2 separate regions of the Homo sapiens genome follow, and region 2 is linked to region 1. Evidence: promoter capture Hi-C in human tissues and cell types (Jung and others, 2019). All regions are on one chromosome and are shown on one strand. The core of a region is centred on a gene start or on the middle of the fragment in contact, and the rest is flanking DNA. Distances in the headings are between cores, read along the strand shown. Region 1 holds the start of CDK12 (cyclin dependent kinase 12). Region 2 holds the start of GSDMA (gasdermin A).

What was found. The method cuts DNA at HindIII sites, captures the fragments that hold promoters and counts their contacts. A contact is called where the count stands out against the background at its distance.
Region 2: the fragment with the promoter of GSDMA here is called in contact with the fragment with the promoter of CDK12 in region 1 in 1 of the 25 tissues and cell types used here (adrenal gland).

Annotation. Positions count from the first base shown.
Region 1 is chr17:39,459,356-39,463,187 of GRCh38, reverse strand. CDK12 (cyclin dependent kinase 12) reads right to left here and starts at 1,702. Exons shown (of 14, transcript NM_016507.4): 1 at 71-1,702. The coding sequence starts at 1,116. RefSeq lists enhancers at 921-1,050, 76-1,275, 1,441-1,500, 1,591-1,640, 1,001-1,925. The HindIII fragment of the contact is 12,986 bases long and covers 1-3,832 here.
Region 2 is chr17:39,961,374-39,965,205 of GRCh38, reverse strand. GSDMA (gasdermin A) reads right to left here and starts at 2,202. Exons shown (of 12, transcript NM_178171.5): 1 at 2,121-2,202. The HindIII fragment of the contact is 9,331 bases long and covers 1-3,266 here.

The DNA.
Region 1 (3,832 bases), core at 453-2,952:
TTAACACGCTGAATGCCAATTCCTCGCAACCCACCCTAAATGAGGAAGGACTGTTAGACAAATAGCTCACCTGGGGAGTGGACTCCGACTCAGAGACCGCTTGCTCAGGAAAGGGCTGCTGGACCGCCTTCGACCATAGGGACTGGGCGATCGCCCGCTGTAAGAGCCACTTCTTTCGTAGCTGGACGACCGTCTCCTGCTATAGGGACTGACAGATCTCTGTCGCCTACTGTAGGGGCTCGGTGACCGGGTGCTGGACTGGTAGGCCGAAGGCTCCTTGTAAGGGGGACTGACCGACTGCCTTCTCGAGGTACTTCCAGGACTTTTCTTGTAGGAGTCATAATTGCTCGAGGTATGAGATCGTGAGGGACTAAGGTCATAATCTTGGCCATAAGAAGCTCCCGAGGGGCTATCATCTTGTTTGGAGCTGTCAGACCACTTCCTGTGGGGGCTCCTGGATCTCCGTTTTGGGCTGTCCACTGTTTTGTAACTTTTGGGTGTTTCCCTTTTTCGATGACTTTTACTCCGGTCTTTGTGCCCAGACTTCAGCTCCCGTTCTTTCCTGGTCTTCTCCTTGTGGAGCTTGGATGACCTGGATTCCTTGCTGCTGCTTTTGGCTACCTGCGCCTTCCCATAGTCATCAGTCTCCTCATTCGAACGCTTTGAACTTCCCGATATCCGGTCCTTCATCGATCCCGACTTGCTGGAGACTTCTTGGCTTTTTTCTTTTTCGGTCTGTTTAGCTTTTAGTAAGTCCCGGGAACGCCTGTGCTGGTGGTGACGATGTTTGTGCAGGCGGTCGCTCCGATCTGATCCACGACGTTCGTCGTTCTCCCTTCGGTCTAGTTTGAAGGCCATGTCATCGGAGAAGGTGTCGGAATCAGAGCTGATATCATCATACTCCACCAAAGGTTTGATAACTGTGCCCAGGGATGCTGCTTCGGGGGTCACCAACCCCATGTCTTTGGAGTGTTTGGACTTATGCCGCTTGTGCTTCGATACCAAGCGGTGACGCTCTCTGCTGTTAGAGCTGCCGCCTCCCGATGACGGCTGCAAAGTTCCAGAAGCTCCTCCACTCCCGTCCTTCTTGCCCCCATGTCTCTCTGAATTGGGCATTCCCTTTCCCCTGACCTGAAGAAGGGAAAAAAGTTCCCCAGCACTCCAAAAAGCAACCCCCACCCACCCCCCCAACCCCAACTCCACGCCCACCAAAGCGCCCCGGGAAGGGGGTGGGGAGGGCAGGGACGGTAGCCCAGGCTCCTCCTCCCTCCCGACGCCTCAGCACCCTTCTACATGAGGTGGGGGGTGAAGGAGCGAGGGAAGAAATGAGAGTTCCTCGGCAGTGGAGTTGCGAGACAACGGGGAGCTGCTCAAGTCTGTTTCCTCTTCTCCCTCCGCCGAGCCAGTCCTCAGGCCCGGGCGCCGGGGAGGTCCAGGAAGTGAGAAGCCGACGGCCCGGGGCTGTGGAGCCGACTCCAGCTCTGGGGCCCTGCGAGGACTACGCGGGCCCTTCCCCTACCCGGTAGCCCGGTTCAGGACGGCTTCCTGTCGCCGGGGTGCCGCGGCCTAGGTGCCTCACGCCCCCTTTGTCCCTCGCTCCTGAGGTAGCCCCCTTTCTTGCCTCCGTTTCACCTCCACACCACACACACTCTCTCCCTCACACAGACCCAGTCACACACTAGATTAAACCGAAACGGCACTTGGGGAAGGGGGGAGGGGCAATCCCAGAAATCGTCGCGAGAGTCCAGTAGCCTCTCGCGATGTTTCGTGCTTCGCTTTCACCTCATTCCCCTGCTTATCAAACAACGCGAGATCAGGTCCCAAACTAGAAACGCGTTTCACCTGAGTCTCGCGATGAGCTCCCGGAGCTCCCCGTTTGAGCAAAGCTTTATTGAAACGGAACAAACCGAGTTTTTTTTTTTTAACCAAAACTTTATCGGTAACTGATTAAACAAACACTCCCAGGCTCCGTGACAAAATAATTTCAACATCCTTTTTAACAAATCTTTTAACTACCAGGATGACTTTTTTTTGTTTGTTTTTTGTTTTCCTTTGAGACGGAGTCTCGCTCTGTAGCCCATCCTGGAGTGTTAGTGGCGCGATCTCGGCTCACTGCAACCTCCACCTCCTGGGTTCAAGCGATTCTCCTGCCTCAGCCTCCCGAGTAGCTGGGATTACAGGCGCCCGCCACCACGCCCGGCTAACTTTTTTGTTTTTAGTAGAGACAGGGTTTCACCATGTTGGCCAGGCTGGTCTCGACCTCCTGACCTCAAGTGATCCTCCCGCCTCGGCCTCCCAAAGTGCTAGGATTACAGGCGTGAACCGCCGCGCCGGGCCATTTTTTTGTTTGTTTGAGACAAGTTCTCTCTCTTTTGCCCAGACTGGAGTGCAGTGGCACGATCTCGGCTCACTGCAGCCTCCACCTCCTGGGCTCAAGCAATCCTCCCACCTCATCCTGCCGAGTACTTGGAACTATAGAGTCGCGCCACCACGCCGTGCTAATTTGTTTCTATTATTCGTAGTGATGGGGTTTCGCCATGTTGCCCAGGCTAGTCTCGAACTCCTAGACTCAAGCAATCCGCGATCCTTGGTCTTGAACTCCTAGAATGAAGCAATCTGCCCGTCTGGTCCTCCCAAAGTGGCGGGATTACAGGCTTGAGCCACCGCGCCCGGTTGAGATTATTTTTTACAGAGCAAAAGACAAATGTCGGGACATTTCAACCCAAGTCCCTGAGTGTTTTAACAGTGCTTCCCACATATAGGGTGTGTGCTACCTGCCAAGAATTTTACATACATTATCTCTAATTTTCACAATTATCCTGCAAAACACGAGATTTTCATCCCTGTTTTATAGAAAAGGAATCCCAGCCTCAGGGAAGTTGAATAATTTGGTCCAACAAGTGCCACAGTCAACATTCAAATTCATGTCTTTCTGAGACTAAAACACAAGCTCTTCCATCCTATGGTGTTGTCTCCTTACCAATCTTTGCTTCAAATCTCAGAACCTAAAAGCTCATCCCATCTTGAGATCCTCCCATGGCCGTTATTGGATAATTTAGCCTTTCATCCTCATACAAAAGATTATAATATGAACAAGAAAAGCATAGTATTAATTAACAAGAAAATAACACTATCTTACACTGGCCCCTCATTTATTACTTTTTAAAAAACTTTCGCCTACCTTAAGTCATTCCATCTTCACAACAGTCCTCTGAAATAGGTTGTATAAGTGAGAAAACTAAGGCATGGAGAAATGAAGGGGCTTGTCCAAAACGGAGAAGTTCAGCTGGTAAATTCAGGACCAGAAAACATTCTGAATTAAGGTAGTCTCAATTCTCAAAAATCACTCTCTGTAAATGTTCTTGTTCCTTTTGCTCACAGGGCGATCCAAAACATTTTTTTTTTTTAACCTAATTTTGTGTGTGTGTGTGAAGGGTCTCGCTCTGTCGCCCAGGCTGGAGTGCAGTGGCACAATCATAACTCACTGTAGCCTTCCCCTCATGGGCTCAGGTGATCCTCCCATCTCAGCCTCCTGAGTAGCTGAGACTACAGCCACAGGCCACCAGCCCAGCTAATTTTTATTTTTATTTTTTTGTAGAGATGGAGGGCTGGCTATGTTGCCGAGTCTGACCTCAGATGCCTGGGCTCAAGCATTCCATCCACTTTGGCCCCCAAAGTGTTAGGATTACAGGCGTGAGCCACCACGCCCGCCGTCTCTAAATGATTGAGTCCATAAATATTGGTTCTAAAATAAAAAGATCAGGCCAGGCACAGTGGCTCACTCCTGTAATCCCAGCACTTTGGGAGGCCAAGGTGGGCAGATCACAAGGTC
Region 2 (3,832 bases), core at 953-3,452, 500 kb before region 1:
TTCCCCCTCTCCCTTCCTTCCTTCCTTCCCTTCCTTCCTTCCCTCCACCTCGCCTTTCCTTGCTTTGCTTTCTTCTCTTTTCTTCCGAGACAGGGTCTTACTCTGTTGCCCAGGTTGGAGTGCAGTGGCGTGATCACAGCTCACTGCAGCCTTGACCGCCAAGGCTTAATTGATCCTCCCACTTCAGCCTCCTGAGTAGCTGGGACTGCAGTCATGCACTTGGCTAATTTTTAAATTTTTTTTGTAGAGACAGAGTCTCACTATGTTTCCCAGGCTGGTCTCAAACTCCTGGCTCAAGTGATCCTCCCACCTCAGCCTCCCGAAGTGCTGGGATTACAGGTGTGAGCCACTGCGCCTGGTCTAGAGCATTTATTTAGCAATGGAAGTAAAGCTTTCTCTCACACCAGAGACTAGCAATAGCCAGAGTCGGAGGACACCAGGGGAGGGAAGGAGATGCTGCTGGCAACAAGAGCCTGGGTGGCCAAGCTGTTCACCTGCCCCAGTTGCCCTTTCCATGTGTGGGTTACACTTCCCTGCACCCTGTCCTTCCCTCATGCGTGCCACAGGTATGAGTACACCCACTCCCCTCTCACAGCCCCTGGGGGATGCCTGGATCCAGACTTTTTTTTTTCTTTTTGAGATGGAGTCTTACTCTGTTGCCCAGGGTGGAGTGCAGTGGTGCCATCTCGGCTCCCTGCAGTCTCCACCTCTCAGATTCAAGCGATTCTCCTGCCTCAGCCTCCCGAGTAGCTGGGACTGCAGGTGTGTGCCACCACGCCTGGCTAATTTTTGTATTTTTAATGGAGACAGGGTTTCACCATGTTGGTCAGGCTGGTCTCGAACTCCTGACCTCAAATGATCCGCCCTCCTTGACCTCCCAAAGTACTGTGATTACAGGTGTGAGCCTCTGTGCCCAGCCAGGATCCAGGCATTTTGATGCTCTTCACCTTTGCCCCCTCTGCTTACAATACCCGCTTCCGGATCTGAAGACTCCCTAGTCCTCCGCTAATGCTCAATTCAGGTCACCTCCTGGAACCTCTTCCCTCAGTCCTCCAGGCAGCTGGTGACTGTATCTGTGTTTCCAAAGCGCTCTTCTGATGCACCTTCCTTTGTTATGATCTGTTCACCTGACCCTATCAGCAACTCGTCTGTGACTTCCCAGAGGGCAGGAAATGGGTCTTAGTCACCTCTGCAGCAGCAAGTACCACACCTGGCACAGAGTTCGAGCTTGGCAAATGTGTGTGGAAAGAACCAATGAATGTGGCCCTGAGAGATGTGCGCTAGGATGAGAGGGCCCTGGAGAATGTGGGGCCCATGGGAACCTGAGAGGCAACATTTTTTTTTTCTTTTTGAGATGGAGTTTCATTCTTGTTGCCCAGGCTGGAGTGCAATGGCATGATCTCGGCTCACTGCAACCTCCATCTCCTGGGTTCAAGTGATTCTCCTGCCTCAGTCTCCCAGGTAGCTGGGATTACAGGCGCCTGCCACCATGCCCAGCTAATTTTTGTGTTTTTAGTAGAGACGGTGTTTCACCATGTTGGCCAGGCTGGTCTTGAACTCCTGACCTCAGGTGATCCGCCCATCTCACCCTCCCAAAGTGCTGGGATTACAGGTGTGAGCCACCGCACCTGACCTGAGGGTCAACATCTTAAGTCTCTGTCTTTGAAGTTTGAGTCCAGGTGCTCTGGCTGGGTGGCCGATCGGCACACCCCAGTTATCCCCGTGGGTGGAAGAGGCCACACCAGCTGGCTTGGAAGCATCCCACATCCACCACAGGCACTTCACAGCAGCAGGGGGGGCAGGAAGCACGGCACAGATGCGTGGGGCTGTTCTGCCAGCTTCAAGGTGCTTTTTTTTTTTCACCCTCATTCCTGGGAGGGCCAGGATGGGGCAGGACAACCTCCTGGTGCTACCTGGGTGCACCTGGGAAGGGCTTGGGCAACAGCAGCCTCCTCTTCACCAGAGAGATGTCCACAGGCCTGCCTCTCCCTTCCCTCCCCAAGGCCTATCGGGATACTTATCCCACTGGACTCTAGGGGAGTTCCATTCCCTTCTTGGTCCACCCATCTTCCTGTGTCCTCAGAGCACCCCTGCCTTCCCTGCTGTCATCAAGTTCTTACCTGGGAGCGGGGCTGGGTCCTATCCAGCAGCTGGGTCTGGGGTGAGGGCCTAGGGCTCACTGGGTCTGTAGGTTGAGAGGATGACCATCCCTTGCCAGGACAGGCTGCTTTATGCAGGGACAGAGGCTTCCGGGGACCCCGCCTGCCCTAGTGACCCCACCCCCCTCCCACTCCACTTCCTGGAGAACAACATCAACCTGTTCCACGTGTGCCCTGGCCTCCTGAGGGCTGAGGGGGTGGATAGGGAGCTGCCAGGCAGGTGCCAGCGTGGGTGGGGGTAGCCAAGGCTGATAGAGAGGTGGCAGCTGGAGGTTGGCTTGTGGATTGAGAGGAGAGGAAGGCAGGTGCCTTTGGGAGGGGTGCAGAGGGAGGCAGTGGGAGTGTGTGTGTGTGTGTGTGTGTGTGTGTGACCAGGGATGGCATCTCTGTTCTGTCATCATCACCGTCATTGGGGAGCATCTCGGATTCATGGTGGGGGTCTGCGGGTGTCCTGGGATAGGGATTCCTGTATGTCCACACATTCCAGTAGAGAGCAGAGCATCTGCAGTGCCGCCCTCCATCCTGGGCTTGTCAGCCTGTGTGTATTGCTGCCTTACTCCATTTGTTTTAGCTACATAGACATAACTCTGATACCGCTAGAAGCAGATGTCTGAGTAGGCAGAGATGGAGTTAGACCAAATGGGTTTGTGTTGTTTAGTGTTCAGCGTCTCTGCTTCTCACAGAATATTGTATACACACATCAGCATATCCGTAGGCAGGGGCACGGCGATATTCATGGAAAAGCCCAGGAGGCTTGTCGTGGGCTTTCAGATGTTGCACCAGAGGTCACTCAGGTCCTCCTCTTAGCTTAAATCTCTGCCTAGAAGGAATTTTAAAGGAATTTCAAATGTTGCCTACATGGTCACATTGCTAGAGGACAGAATAAGGGACTTACAAGCAAGGCCCTTACAGTGTTGGGCCATGTGGCCATGCATATGTGCAGGTATAACCTGACACAGCAGAGCCTTCCTGCTCCCACCTTGAGGCTCTTCTTAGTACCACTCATGGAAAAAGAAACGCAACCCTGAATGCTGTGAAGAGTAAATTCCATCTTTTTTTTTTTTGAGAAGGAGTCTCGCTCTGTCCTCCAGGCTGGAGTGCAGCGGTGCAATCTCAGCTCACTGCAACTTCCACCTCCCGGGTTCAAACAGTTCTCTGCCTCAGCCTCCCGAGTAGCTGGGATTACAGGCATGCACCACCATGCCTGGCTAGTTTTGTATTTTTATTAGAGACGGGGTTTCGCCATGTTGGCCAGGAGGGTCTTGATCTCCTGACCTCATGATCCGCCCGCCTCGGCCTCCCAAAGTGCTGGGATTACAGGATGAGCCACTGCGCCCGGCCAATTCCATCTTTACTGAACGTTTCCTTGAGGGGCTGATGGTGAATGAGACTAGACCATTCCACACTTAGGAAAACTCCCTAAAATAGTCATTACTCCACTTGTGTCCCCAAAGTCTCATTCAATATGACAGATGCTCCCAAATATCTCTTCTCTATGTCTTGAAACAGAACAAAGCCAAGCCTTGCCTCTGCCTCTCTGGTCCCTGCTCACTCTCTTTTTCTTTACATACTTTCCCATCCACCCTACACCTTTTTGAGACGGGGCCTCGCTCTGTCACCCAGGCTGGAGCGCAGTGGCTTGATCATGGCTCACTGCAGCCACCCAATACTTC